Regions from separate parts of the Homo sapiens genome. Here all the other regions are linked to region 1. The links are contacts of gene promoters, found by promoter capture Hi-C in human tissues and cell types (Jung and others, 2019). All regions are on one chromosome and are shown on one strand. Each heading gives the region's core, a stretch centred on a gene start or on the middle of the fragment in contact. The rest is flanking DNA. Distances are from core to core; before and after follow the strand shown. Region 1 holds the start of BOK (BCL2 family apoptosis regulator BOK). Region 2 holds the start of MIR3133 (microRNA 3133). Region 3 overlaps ATG4B (autophagy related 4B cysteine peptidase).

The links. Contacts are between HindIII fragments. The study calls those that stand out against the background at their distance.
Region 2: a fragment that was not itself captured here is called in contact with the fragment with the promoter of BOK in region 1 in 3 of the 25 tissues and cell types used here (IMR-90 fibroblasts, lymphoblastoid cells and mesenchymal stem cells).
Region 3: a contact is called between a fragment that was not itself captured here and the fragment with the promoter of BOK in region 1, in 2 of the 25 tissues and cell types used here (IMR-90 fibroblasts and hippocampus).

The regions. Positions count from the first base shown.
Region 1 is chr2:241,556,209-241,560,623 of GRCh38, reverse strand. BOK (BCL2 family apoptosis regulator BOK) reads right to left here and starts at 1,879. Exons shown (of 5, transcript NM_032515.5): 1 at 1,631-1,879; 2 at 921-1,169. The coding sequence starts at 1,140. It overlaps BOK-AS1 (BOK antisense RNA 1), which reads left to right and starts at 1,481. Exons shown (of 2, transcript NR_033346.1): 1 at 1,481-1,847. RefSeq lists silencers at 857-986, 1,037-1,106, 1,137-1,216. The HindIII fragment of the contact is 1,356 bases long and covers 1,495-2,850 here.
Region 2 is chr2:241,474,793-241,479,460 of GRCh38, reverse strand. It overlaps FARP2 (FERM, ARH/RhoGEF and pleckstrin domain protein 2), which reads right to left. Exons shown (of 27, transcript NM_014808.4): 19 at 3,474-3,604. It overlaps MIR3133 (microRNA 3133), which reads right to left and starts at 1,556; the gene lies at 1,479-1,556. It also overlaps the pseudogene KCTD5P1. The HindIII fragment of the contact is 3,627 bases long and covers 887-4,513 here.
Region 3 is chr2:241,646,100-241,650,881 of GRCh38, reverse strand. All of the region lies in intron 1 of ATG4B (autophagy related 4B cysteine peptidase), which reads right to left. Among named protein-coding and RNA genes, the nearest start is that of ATG4B, 11 kb to the right of the region's middle. The HindIII fragment of the contact is 8,495 bases long and covers 1-4,782 here.

The DNA.
Region 1 (4,415 bases), core at 630-3,129:
GGATTCTGTCTGCACCCCACACACACTCCTGGGCAGGCCAGGTCTACACAGCTTTGCTCTCTGGGCCCAGCCCACCACGTAAGGGCAGGGGCCACCTAGAGCCCATGCCAGCGCCAGCCTGAGAGGAGGCAGCGTGTCCCCTCACGGGGTCGTGCCCTCCGACTCCAACCCCCTGCCTGGAGAGCCACCGATTCAGTTTCACCTATGCTGTCACCTCCCCTTCCCGGGCTCAGCCACAGGCGCCCCATGTGCCCTCTTCGGGCATCACATAAACATTCCCAGGTGACGGCCACAGCCCAGCTGTGGTGAGGGGACTGGACAGTCACAGTGGGGCTGGTCCCTCCCTCTTGGGTCCAGACCTTGGAGACGGTGGGGGCAGCCAGTGGACCGTGTGTGACCCCAGAACCGAGCACCCCCAGATGTCCTCACAGCACCAACGAATACTGAGGTTTTGGCTACCCAGCCCGGTGGGCGCAGTTTCCAATGGGGGGGCCTCGGAGGCCTCGGAATCCAGAGGGCAGCGGGCGGGATCTCGGCCAGTAACAGCAAGAATCTGTTTTCCAAAATAAACATCGGGACACGTGCTCCTACAAAGGGTTTCTGTGCCCAGCTGAGAACAAGGGTCACTGTGGAAGCTTAGCCACCCACTAATAGATTATTCTTTCTGGAGCTTTCTATTGTTTATGGCCAGCATGACTGAAATCTGGGCTGAGCAGGCAGCTGATGGGGGGGCCTGTGGCGTGGGAGGCCTGAGAGGGCAGATCCGGGAGCACCCGCCTGGGTGGCCCTGTCCCGAGCGCCTGGCCGTCCCAGGCAGGGGGTGGGCGCCCCTGGGCCGGACCCCCATCTCGGCCTCGGAGGGAGGCTGCGGCCCAGCAGGGGAGGAGGCGCAGCTGGGGATCCCACCAGGGCGCACTCACCCAGGCGCAGCAGCACCGCGCACACCTCAGCCAGGCGTCCCGGGACCGGCGCGGCACGCTCGGGCGCGCTCCAGGAGAGGCCGGCGCGCAGCAGCCGCGCGTGCACGTACTCCCGGCCCAGCGCCTTGGCCTGGGCCACCAGCTCCTTGTCTGTGGGCGAGCGGTCAAAGGCGTCCATGATCTCGGCGGCGAAGACCGAGGAGCGCCGCAGCACCTCCATGGCGGCGACGCGGGTGGGGGGCGCCGCACCTGCGGGCACAAGCGCTCAGCCGGGTGGAGGGAGGCGGCGCGGGGAACGGGGCGCGCGGGGCGCCGGGCTGGGCGTGGCCCTCGGGAAGGGCCGTAGCCGGCGCCGGGTCCGCTCTCGTTTTTTGTGCCCCAAATCTTTAAAAACCCAGCGCCACCTTCTTTCAGAGCCCGAATTCAGCTACAGACATTCCCCGAGGCTGCCAGGGACCGGTGGGGCCGCGGGGAGACGGCGGTTTGCTCCGGGGCCGCCGGGCCCGCCCTCGAAGACGAGTGCGTGGGCGGCGGGGGCGGAGGGCACAGCCCAGCGCGTCCCCCACGGCGACTGCCAGGACCCGGCCCTCCCCGCCCCGGCCCGGGGCCGCCCACCTCCGCCGCTGGCGTCCTGCGCGCGTGTCCCCGGCCTCGCCGTTCCCGTGGCACCCCGGGCACCCCGGCACGGACGCCACGCCCGCCGCGCTCACCTCTCCCGCCGCATGGCGCGGGCGCCGGGGTGGAGTTCTGGCTTCAGGATCTGCTCGCCGCCGACGACGACCTCGACCCTTCCATTCAGACCCGCGAGGACGCGCGCCCCGCCCCGGCGCCCGCCCCGTCCACGCCCGAGCCGGGAGCGCCAGGTCCACGGGGCTTCCCGCGCTCTTGGGGGGCTCCTGCCGCGGCGTCGGGGGCCTGGGCAGCGAGGTGGGCAGCGCGCGACTCCCAGCTGGCGAGAGGCTGGGCTTGGGGCTTGGCCTTCTAAGGGAAAGGCAACCCTGGGGGCGGAGTCGGGGAGACGCTTTCCGAGCTTCCCCGCTTAAGGAGGACCGAGCGAGTTCCCTGGATGCGCCCGGAGAAGGCGACCAGGCCGGAGCGGCCCCCGCAAGGCAGAGCAGTGGGGACCTAGAGCCAGCCCCAGCCGCCTGGGTGTTCCCCGGGGTCCATTTGAAAATTGGGTTGTCTTCTTCGTTCGTAGAGGTTCTTTCCAGAGTCTGGAGACGTGTTCTTGGTCCGGACGCATGCCCTTTGTATTGTAGATGGATTATTGGATTCGCATTTATTGAAGTTATTGCAAATATCTTCCTCTATTTTGTGGTTTACTTTTGCTTTGGATGAACAGGAGTTACTCTTAGTGATGTCCAATTTATCAATATTTTCTTTATGGTTAGTACCTTTTTATTGGGATATCCTCCTGTATTTCCTTTTAGAAGCTTGTTTTAGGGCTCATATTTAGATCTATGATTGATTACATATTAATTATTGTGAATGGTGTGGTACGGGGCTAGAGCTCATTTTTTTTCGTGTAGATATCCAATTGACCTGGCATCATTTATTGAAAAGCATCATTTTTTTTCCACCGAATTGGAGGAGTCCCCAACATCTCAACATAAATCAGCTGAAGAGTGTGTGTGTGTGTGTGTGTGTGTCTCGGAACTCTATCCCACTGGTTTATTTCTTTATCCTTGAATCAACCTCACACAGTTTGAACAATAGGATTAACCAACTTGGCCTAATTCACGTGTGTACAACACTATAAAATACTTATTCTTCCCATGTGCACATAGGATGTTTATCGAAATAGACCATATCATGGACCTTATACAAGTCTCAGCAAATCTCAACGGATTGAAATCTTACAGTGTGTCCTCTCTGAATTAAAAGTCAATAACAGAAAAATTACTGGAAAATCTGCAAATGCTTGGAAATTACATGTCACACTTCTAAATAATCAATGGGTCAATAATCACAGTGGAAGATTAAAATATGTTGACAAGAACAGTGAAAAATAAGACATATCAAATGCTGTACAGTGCAACTAAAACACTGCTTAGAGGAAATTTGATAGCTTTAGAAGAAGGATTGAAAATTAGGCCAGGTGAAATGACTCAGACCTGTAATCCCAGCATTTTGGGAGGCCTAGGTGGGCAGATCACCTGAGCTCAGGAGTTTGAGACCAGCCGGGTCAAAATGGTGAAAACCCCGTCTCTACTAGAGATACAAAAAATGAGTTGGGTGTGGTGGCAGGTGTCTGTAATCCCAGCTACTAAGGAGGCTGAGGCAGGAGAATTGCTTGAACCTGGGAGGCGAAGGTTGCAGTGAGCAGAGATCATCCCACCTGCACTCCAGCCTGGACAACAGAGTGTGATTCCATCTCAAAAAAAAAAAAAAAAAAGGAAAAAGAAAAATAAAATTACTGCTCTAAGCTTCCACTCAAGAAGCTAGAAAAGAACAATAAAACTAAAGATGAAAGGAAATAATAAAAATAAGAGCAGAAATTAATGGAATAAAGCAAAAAATAGAGAAAATCAACAAAGCCAAAAATTGGTTCTTTGAAGAGATTAATAGAACTGATAAATCCCCAGAAAGATTGAGTAAGAAAAAAGATAACACAAATTTCACTATCAAGAATGAAAAAGAGGACATCACTGTAGATACTACAAGCATTAAAGGGATAAAAAGATAGTATGGAGGACTTTTTGACAGTGCATTTGAAATTTTAGATGATACACAACTTACCAAAACTGACACTAAAAGAAATAGAAAATCTGGATAGTCCTACACCAATTAAATGCATTGAATCTGTAATTTAAAATCTTCCCACAAAGAAAATTCTAGGTTCAGATGGTTTCATTGAGAAATTCTTCTCAACAGTTAAAAAAATACCACCAGTCTCATACAAACCTGCACAGAGACTAAAAATGAGGGAGTATTTCCCAACTCATTTTATGAGGTCAATGTAATTTTAATACCGAAACCTGTCAGGAACATTACCAGAAGCTAGGAAAGCTATGGAACTTCTATCTGCTATGACTTTCCTGTCTGGGAAGTAGGAAGAATAATAATACCTACCTCCTAGGATTGTTGAGAGGACTGAATTCTTTTTTTTTTTTTTTTTTTTTGAGACGGAGTCTCGCTCTGTTGCCAGGCTGGAGTGCAATGGCGTAAACTCGGCTCACTGCAACCCCGCCTCCTGGGCTCCAGCGATTCTCCTGCCTCAGCCTCCCGAGTAGCTGGGACTACAGGCACCTGACACCACGCCCGGCTAATTGTTTGTATTTTTGGTAGAGAGGGGGTTTCACCATGTTGGCCAGGATGGTCTCGATCTCTTGACCTCGTGATCTACCTGCCTTGGCATCACAAAGTTCTGGGATTATAGGCGTAAGCCACAGCGCCCAGCCTGGGAGGACTGAATTCTTAATCCATGTCATGTAGTAAGTGCTCAGTCATTGTTAGCTGCTTTTTCAGAAAAGCTGTAGTACAGTAAAATCTGAG
Region 2 (4,668 bases), core at 1,451-3,950, 82 kb after region 1:
CAACCAGCGATCCCACCTGGGAGGCAGAGCAGACTCCTGACTGAGCCTAAGGCCTGGCAGCCAGACCCGAGGCCACGGCGTGCTGGATGCCGATGAGGCCGTGGCCGCTTCCTGCCAGTGAAGCGCAGGCTGCTTTTACAGACTATGTGTAGTACCAAGAACTCTGTCCTTTACATGATCTTCGGGGATTGAGTGGGCTGACTGGGAGCATCTGCCTCAGTCTCTGGCCCCCCTCAAGAGATAGTACCCACCTGGCCAGAATGCTCCTCCCCTTGGGGACACCTGGCCTTGGACAGCTGGACCTGTCTCTCACCACCCACCTCAGAAGCACAAAAGGATTCACACCCAGATCTCTAGAAAAATGATCAAAAGCAGGTTCCTTCTCGCAGCCAAGCTTCCTGGACATGGTAGTTCATTGCATCTTGGGAAAGAGTAAATCATTTTTTCAGCTGTCAATACTGTGTCCCTCACATCCTTGAACCTTGTTCTTGCAAAATCTTGGCCTTCTTTCTGGGTTCACTGGCCATACTGTATGGGGTGTTGTGAAGTTTCTTGGACACCACATAGAGGAACTTGGCCTGATCTTCATTCCCATAGTTGTAAGAAGAGCCATTGCTGACCAGTTGTTCAAACTTCCAGCTGTCGGACATGGTGGACACCACCTGTGTGAGTTCCTCCTCCTGACACTGAAGCACGTGGTACACATGCTTCATGGGCACCTGTGATGTTTTGCTCTCTTGTTCTCTAATTTTGTCCTTTACAAGTTTTATTAATGAAGTGATACTGTAAAATTCTGCTTTTTCCAACACTCCTTCCTCCACAAGGTCTTTGTTAATCACCAGCTTGCCACGTCTCAGGTAGTTCAACACAGGCCCAAAATAGGTGGGGTCTCTGTCCATTAAATAGGCAACAGTTTCATCCTTGTCGGGGTTAGCCTGATACAAGGAGTACAGGAAGTATTTCAGGTCCTGGCACAGCATCTGCTGGGTGGTGAGAAAGTAGGTGCCACCAATGTTGAGCCAGAGCCATTTGGACAAGCTACCGGGTGCTGGGCCACGGCACTCTGAGTCTTGCACTGCAGCAGCACAGGTCGCCCCCGCCAGCCCTGCCCTAAGGCTGCCCCAGGCAGGTGGCAGTGCTCGCATTAATTCCTTTTTTTCTGAGACAGGGTCTCACTCTGTTGTCCAGGCTAAAGTGCAGTGGTGGGATCATAGCTCACTGCAACGTTGAACTCCTGGGCTCAAGCAATGCTCCTACCTTAGCCTCCCGAGTAGCTGGGTCTATAGGTGTGCACCGCTACACTTGGCTGACAATAGTTTCTTAGATATAACATCTAAGACACAAGCAACTAAAGAAAAAAAATAGATAAATTAAAAGCTTTCATGTTGTAAATGAAGGCCACATCAAGACAGTGAAAAGACAACCCACACAATGGGAGAAAATGTTTGCAAATCATAGTCTGATAAAGGTCTAGCATTCAGAATATATAAAGAACTCTTAAAACTCAACAGGTTGTCTTTTTACTATTGGGTTTTAAGAGTTCTTTACAATTTCTGAATAAAATAAAAGGTGGGCAAAGGATTTGAATAGACATTTCTCCAAAAAAGGCCTACAAATGGCCAATAAGCACATGAAAAGATGCTCAATATCATTAGCTATCAGGGAAATACAAATTGTAACCACACAAGACAGCATTACACACTCACTAAAATGGCTAGAACCAAAAAGTGACACATGATGTGAGAAACTGGAAGTCTCATACGAGTTGGTGGGAATGAAAAATGGTTCAGTCACTTTGGAAAACAGTTTGGCAGTTCCTCAAAATGTTAAACATGGAATTACCATATGAACCTGTATATGGTATATACTCAAAACTGAAAACATAAGTCCACACAAAACTTGTACATGAACGTCCACAGCAGCACTATTCGTAACAGCCAAGAAGTGGAAATAACCCAGTGTCCATCAGATGAGTGGAGAGACGTGTGATACATGCATGATGGAGTATGATTCAGCCACAAAAAGGAACATGAGGCCGGGCACGGTGGCTCATGCGTGTAATCCCAGCACTTTGGGAGGCCAAGGTGGGTGGATCACAAGGTCAAGAGCTTGAGACCATCCTGGCCAACATGGTGAAACCCTGTCTCTGCTAAAAATACAAAAATTAGCTGGGCATAGTGGTATGTGCCTGTAGTCCCAGCTACTTGGGAGGCTGAGGCAGGAGAATCACTTGAACCTGGGAGGCGGAGGTTGCAGTGAGCCAAGATCGCGGCACTGCACCCCAGCCTGGTGACAGAGCAAGACTCTGTCTCAAATAAAAAAAAAAAAAAAAAAAAAGGAACATGAATGAACCTTGAAAAGATTATTCTGAGTGAAAGAAGAGTCACAAGAGGCCACATTAATGTGTGATACCATTTCTATGAAATGCCCAGACAGGTAACTCCTTAGAGACAGAAAGCAGATCAGTGGTTGCCAGGGGTTAGGGAGCAGAACGAGGTCCCCACAGAACAGCATCCCCACCCAGAACAGGGTTACCTCAGAACAGAGTCTCCTGAGAACAGGGTTCCCTTCAAAATAGTGATGGGAAGTGACTGTTAATTGCTGTGGGGGTTTCACTTTGGGGTGATGAAAATGTTCTGAATTCGACATTGATGGCTACATAACCTTGTGAAGATACTAAAACCCACTCAATTATATATTTTTTGTATGTATGTATGTGTGTATGTATGTATATATGTACCTATTTTATTTTATTTTATTTATTTTATTTTGAGACGGAGTTTCGCTCATGTTACCCAGGCTAGAGTGCAATGGCGTGATCTTGGTTCACTGCAACCTCCACCTCCCGGGTTCAAGCGATTCTCCTGCCTCAGCCTCCTGCGTAGCTGGGATTACAGGCATGTGCCACCATGCCCTGCTAATTTTTTGTATTTTTAGTAGAGACAGGGTTTCTCCATGTTGGTCTGGCTGGTCTCGAACTCCCAACCTCAGGTGATCTGTCTGCCTTGGCCTCCCAAAGTGCTGGGATTACAGGCGTGAGCCACTGTGCCTGGCTGTATTTACTCATTTTTAACAGAGACAGGGTCTTGCTCTGTTGTCAGGCTGGAGTGCAGTGCTGTGATCAGGGCTTACTCCAGCCTCGACCTCCTTGGCTCAAGCGATCCTCCCATCTCAGTCTCCTGAGTAGCTGGGACCACAGGTGTGCGCCACCACACCCAGCAATTCTTTTTTTTTTTTTTTTTTTTTAATTCATAGAAATGGGGTTTCCCTGTGTTGCTCAGTCTGGTCTTGAACTCCTGGGCTCAAGCGATCCTCCCACCTCAGCCTCCCAAAGTATTCAGATTACAGGTATGAGCCACTGTGCCTGGCCAAAATTATACATTTTAAAATGGTGACTTTTGTGGTATGTAAATTATATCTCAATTGAAAAACCAAAGTAGCTCAAAAAACATTCCCAGAGCAAGGTCACTCACCCTGCCAGGAGCAATGAGGTTCTCTATGCCCACCAGGTCCCGCTGCAGCTCCGTTAGCTTCTGCAGGTTCTCCAGCCGGATGAGAATGTGCTGTAGTGTGGTGGTCACCTCTGTGATGGCTTTCAGGGCGTCTGTGTGGAGAGACCCCTCAGTACAGGTGTACAGGCAGTGGTGTGCACAGCACCCTCCACCCACCACCTTGTGACAGGAACCAGCATTCTAAAAGGCAGTTCTAATTAGAGGTACATCCTACTCGACTCCTTATAGCAGCGGTCCCCAACATTTTTGGTACCAGGGATGGGTTTCATGGAAGACAATTTTTCCACAGACCAGAGGTGGTAGGAATGGTTTGGGGATGAAACTGTTCCACCTCAGATCATCAGGCATTTGTTAGATTCTCACAAGGAGCATACAAACTAGATCCCCCACATGTGCAGTTCACAATAGGGTTTGTGCTCCCATGAGAATCTAATGTTGCTGCTGATCTGACAGGAGGAGGAGCTCAGGTGGTAATGCAAGCAATGGGGAGTGGCTGTAAATACAGAGAAGCTTCACTTGCCCGCCACTCACCTCCTGCCGTGTGGCCTGGTTCCTAACAGGCTATGGACTGGACTGGTACTAGTCCATAGCCATGGGCACTGGGGACCCCTGCCTTATAGGACTTATAGGACTGCTGCCTACTATGTGCAGCCACCAGGCGCCTGCTCCTGCAGATACCCCTGAGGCCTTCAGGTTGTTCAACCCAAACTGTTGGCCAGCCCATATTCTGGTTTGGCAAAGAGGATAGGCTTTGTAAATAACCATTTAATGTTATGGGTAAGGCAGTATTTGCTCTTAAAGGAAAATGATTTATTGTACTTTAAAGGCTAAATGATTTGCACCTTCAAAGCAATTGTAACTTTCTCTTTTAACCAGGAACAGATGCTAATCTTATAGTTCAAGCAAAGATAAGAGAAAGTTTATAATCTGGACAGGAAACTTAAAACACAAAGTTATACTAAGAGTGGTCTGCCCAGCTCTGAGGCCATGCTGAGAGTGGTGGCGTAGCATAGCTGAGCCTGCTCCCAACTCTGATGATGCCTGGAGCACAGGGTCTGCATCCTCCTTGCTGGAATCACTCATGGGGACCACTTTCCCCCTTCTTTCTTTTTATTTATTTATTTATTTATTTATTTATTTATTTATTATTATTATT
Region 3 (4,782 bases), core at 13-2,512, 91 kb before region 1:
CTCGTATCTCGGGCCTACCAAGACACCCACCATGGATGGAGTAAACTCTTAGGAAAGAGAAGGAGGCCCTGCTGGGCAGCTGCTCTGCTAAGGTATGGGGACAGGGAGGTGGGGCCAGCATGCTACTTCCTGAGCCTTTCATATTCTGAGCCACTGAGTCAGTGTCTAACAGCTGACACGAGGGTGAGAGGCCAAGTTAGGGGCCAACCTGAGGGGTGAGAAAGCAAAAAAATGAAAACCCACCCGATTCAAGCACTTACTTTAGACTTAAAAAGTAAAGGACAAAAATAAAGTTAAACCACCTCCTTCATCCTTGTACGCAAGGGAAGCCAAGAAGAAACAGGGCAAAGAGTCGTTTTCCATGGCCATCCTAAGGTTTACCAGATGTCACCATGGCAGCGTGTTCAGAGTCACTGTGATGAAGGCAGATGCTCCGGGGCAAGAAACACTGAGCTGCTGGGAAGACTGGGGTTCTGGTCTACCCCAATTTCCTGGTTAGGAGCAGGTGCTGGAGAAGCATGGGGTGCTACTCTCAGGTAGAAAGTTAACCCCTGGACACTGAGAGATCAAACTCTCTGCCAAGTCCCCAGAGGTACCCGGGTACAAAAAGCCTAGTGATCAAGGACTGAACCTGTTTTCATTTCAACAATGCTACCAGAAGAGCATGCCACCACTTCCATGGGGCAACACCCCACTTTCTAAGGAGGCAGCTGGCTGCAGAGCCATGGTGCTTACCTGCTGGGCTAATGATTAGCCCTGCATGCCATCTTACTCTGTTTTACTTCAATTAAGAAACTAGGCCAGGCACAGTGGCTCATGCCTGTGATCCCAGCACTCTGGGAGGCCGAGGTGGGCAGATCACCTGAGGCCAGGAGTTTGAGACCAGCCTGGTCAACATGGTGAAACTCCGTCTCTACTAAAAGTACAACAATTAGCCAGGCGTGGTGGCGGGCGCCTGTAATCCCAGCTACTAGGGAGACTGAGCCAAGAGAATCACTTGAACCCAGAAGGTGGAGGTTGCAGTGAGCTGAGATTGTGCCACTGCACTCCAGCCTGGGTGACAAGAGTGAAACTCCATCTCAAAAAAAAAAAAAAAAGAAAAAGAAAAGAAAAAGAAAAAAAAGAAAGAAAGAAACTAGAGAGGCCCAGGGTCTTCCTGTCCACAGAACTGTGGCTGAGGATACCCATGTCCCACAATGTTCCTGAAAAGAAGGCGCCAGCCAGCAGCAATGCACCAGCCCAAACACCCATGTGGCGAGATGCCCATTGCGTATTCTGGGGCGGCACCAGAGGCATCTCTCTCCAGCTGCTCTTCAGGGAACTGGGAACACACAATTCCCATCTGCTGCCTCTCCAGCTCTGATGGTGTCTGATCACTCATCCTTCACCAGCAACTTTACAGCAATCTTTTGAAAATCAATCACATATGAATTTCTCCCACATCTAAATTTACTTTTTGATAACAACCCCACACTTCAATAAGAATGACATATGCTAATCATAAAAAATTCTGAAGACTACAAAAATACACAAATCACGTGAAGCCTCGTTGCCCAGCAATGACTCTTTCCAGAAGTCTTTATGCACAGGTTCGTACGTGAAATCATACTATGCCTGTGGTTTCCTCAGCATTCTACATAAACACAGATCTCCACCTAAGCTGATACTAAAAAGCATCGTGTGTGAACTTCTGTGCTGTGCACAATCCCCTTGGGGAGGCAGGGGGCAGTCAGAATTTAAAGCCCAGCTTGGGTACTGGTAAACTGTAGTTTCCTGGGCCACTCACTTAACTTCTAAGTGTGAATGTTCCCTCATCCATAAAATGGGATAACAACAGGACAGCCTCAGCATATGGGTGTGACGTTTCAATGAAACACTTCCAATGAGGTGCTGGCTGGCAGACAGAAGGGCTGCAATGTCCGCTCTGTCATTAACATCGAGGACTCAGAACCACAGGGTCAAAGGCACACAAATTTTACTATACCCAAAAGCCTTAATTGTATGCGCAGCTAATTCCCAAACACAGGGTTCAGAAGCACCTGCAAGCATCTCCCTCGGTGCAGGCAGAACTACCAAATCCACAATAGAGGGCCCTACAGGCACTGTTTAAAGGATTCTCAGCTGTGGGAGACCCAGGCCCCTCTCTGCCCCTTTCCTAGAGTAGTGCTGTGGCTTCCTGAGCAAGATGACGGGCGTTGTGGAGCGGCTGCAGCCAGATGAAGCAAGCTTTCCACAGCAGGGCTTTGTCCAAGAGCTCTGCTCCTGTTTTTTTTTCTTTTTTTTTTTTGAGACCGGGACTCATTTTGTCACCCAGGCTGGAGTACAGTGGTGTAATCACAGCTTACTGCAGCCTCAAACTCCCAGGCTCAATCAATTCTCCGGTCTCAGCCTCCTGAGCAGCTGAGACTACAGGCATGTGCCACCACACCCAGCTAATTCTTGTATTTTTTGTAGAGATGAGGTCTAATCATGTTGTCAAGCTGGTCTCAAACTCCTAGGCTCAAGCAATCCACCTGCCTTAGCCTCCCGAAGGCTGGGATTACAGGCATGAGCCACTGCACCTGGCCCCCAAGAGCTCTGCTCTTACATATTTCACTTGTCCATGCTTTCAGAGACATTATCAACCAAACTGCTTGGTGACTGTGAATAAATAAAGTCCAAGTTTACATTCTCTCCTGCCTTTTTATATATATGTTACTTGTTTCTGCACATGATTACAAAAACTGAATTAGGATGAATTAAGGTCCATGCCTTTTTTTTATTCTTTTGTGATGGAGTCTCACTCTGTTGCCCAGGCTGAAGTGCAGTGGCATGATCTTGGCTCCCTGCAACCTCCACCTTCCGGGTTCAAGAAATTCTCCTGCCTCATCCTCCCGAGTAGCTGGGATTACAGACATCTGCCACCATGCCCGGCTAATTTTTGTATTTTTAGTAGAGACAGGGTTTCACTGTGTTAGCCAGGCTGGTCTCGATCTCCTGACCTCAAGTGATCCACCCACCTCGGCCTCCCAAAGTGCTGGGATTACAGGCGTGAGCCACAGCATCCGGCCCACTCCTATCTTTTTAAAGAGCTGAAAAACATCATGATGTCCCTGCTACCTCTCTAAAGCCACTCCTGAATCTTCAGAAGTCCCTACTATTCTTTGACCTGTAGGCTTTATTCAATATATAGACTAAAATCCAGAAAACTTATTCTCAAGGAAAAAGGATGAAAACACCACCGGTCTAATTTCTTTTCTTTTTTTTTTTTTTTTTTTTTGAGACGGAGTCTCACTCTGTCGCCCACCAGGCTGGAGTGCAGTAGCGCGATCTCGGCTCACTGCAAGCTCTGCCTCCCGGCTCATGCCATTCTCCTGCCTCAGCCTCCTGAGTAGCTGGGACTACAAGCGCCCGCCACCACGCCTGGCTAATTTTTTGTATTTTTTTTAGTAGAGACGGGGTTTCACTGTGTTAGCCAGGATGGTCTCAATCTCCTGACCTCATGATCCTCCCGCCTCGGCCTCCCAAAGTGCTGGGATTACAGGCGTGAGCCACTGCGCCTGGCCACCACCGGTCTAATTTCAACACTGCAAGACAATGATTCCATCTTGCTGTTGGAACATTCTTCTCATGTTTGACACCGTTCCAAGGCACCAGCTTTGAACTAAAGATACACATATCTTTTATTTAAAGTACAGCAGAGCTAAATGAACACTGGCAAGTATCTCTTTGTAGACTACAGATGTTCCTTAATTAGGATGGGATTATGTCCAATAAACCCATTGTAAATTGAAAATACTTAGGTCAAAAATGCACTGAGGCCAGGCACAGGGGCTCATGCCTGTAATCCCAGCACTTGGGGAGGCCAAGGCGGGTGGATCACCTGAGGTCAGGAGTTGGAGACCAGCCTGGTCAACATGGTGAAATCCCATCTCTATTAAAAACACAAAAAGTTACTCGGGCATGGTGGCAGGTGCCTGTAATCCCAGCTACTCGGGAGGCTGAGGCAGGAGAATTGCTTAAACCCAGGAGGCGGAGGCTGCAGTGACCTGAGATCGCGCCACTGCATTCCAGCCCAGGTGGGAGAGTGAAACTCTGTCTCAAAAAAAAAAAAAAAAAAAGCATTGAATACACGTAATCTACCTAACATCATAGCTTAGCCTAGCCTGCCTTAAATGTGCTCAGAACACTTACATTAGCCTACAGTTGGGCAAACTCAGCTGGCAACACAGTGCCCTGTAGAGCAGGGGTCATTCCCCCTTCTCATGATGTGGCTGACGAGGAGCTATCTGGCATCTCGAGAGTATCTGGAGGCATACTGCTAGCCCAGAAAAAGATCAAAATTCAAAACGTCAAGTATGGTTTCCATAGAATGCATACTGCTTTCACACTATCGTAAAGTCAAAAAATTGTAAGTCAAACCATGGTAGTTTGGAGACCATCTGTACTTCAGAAGAATGTGGCGTATGTCATCAGGAAAAGGACCATATTGTTGAATCAGTAACAGTCTGCAGTAACAGAATCTGGAAGCTGAGAAACTTCTAGGATGTCTAGTTTCCCATATTAAAAATATAAATGGTAAAGGAATGAGAGAAGTATAGATAAGGAAGAAAAGGAAAAAGGCTCCCTCTGAAAGCAGGGTCACGAGGCCTGAGCGGCTGTGAAGTTGAGGGATTTTCATCACGGACGCAGTAAAATGCACAGCAGGTGTATTTCTTAGGTTTATCACCAAACTTTATAGGCAAGGAAGCCAACTTCAGAGTGAAGGGAATAAGAGGTGTTCCATTAAGTTCAAATACACCA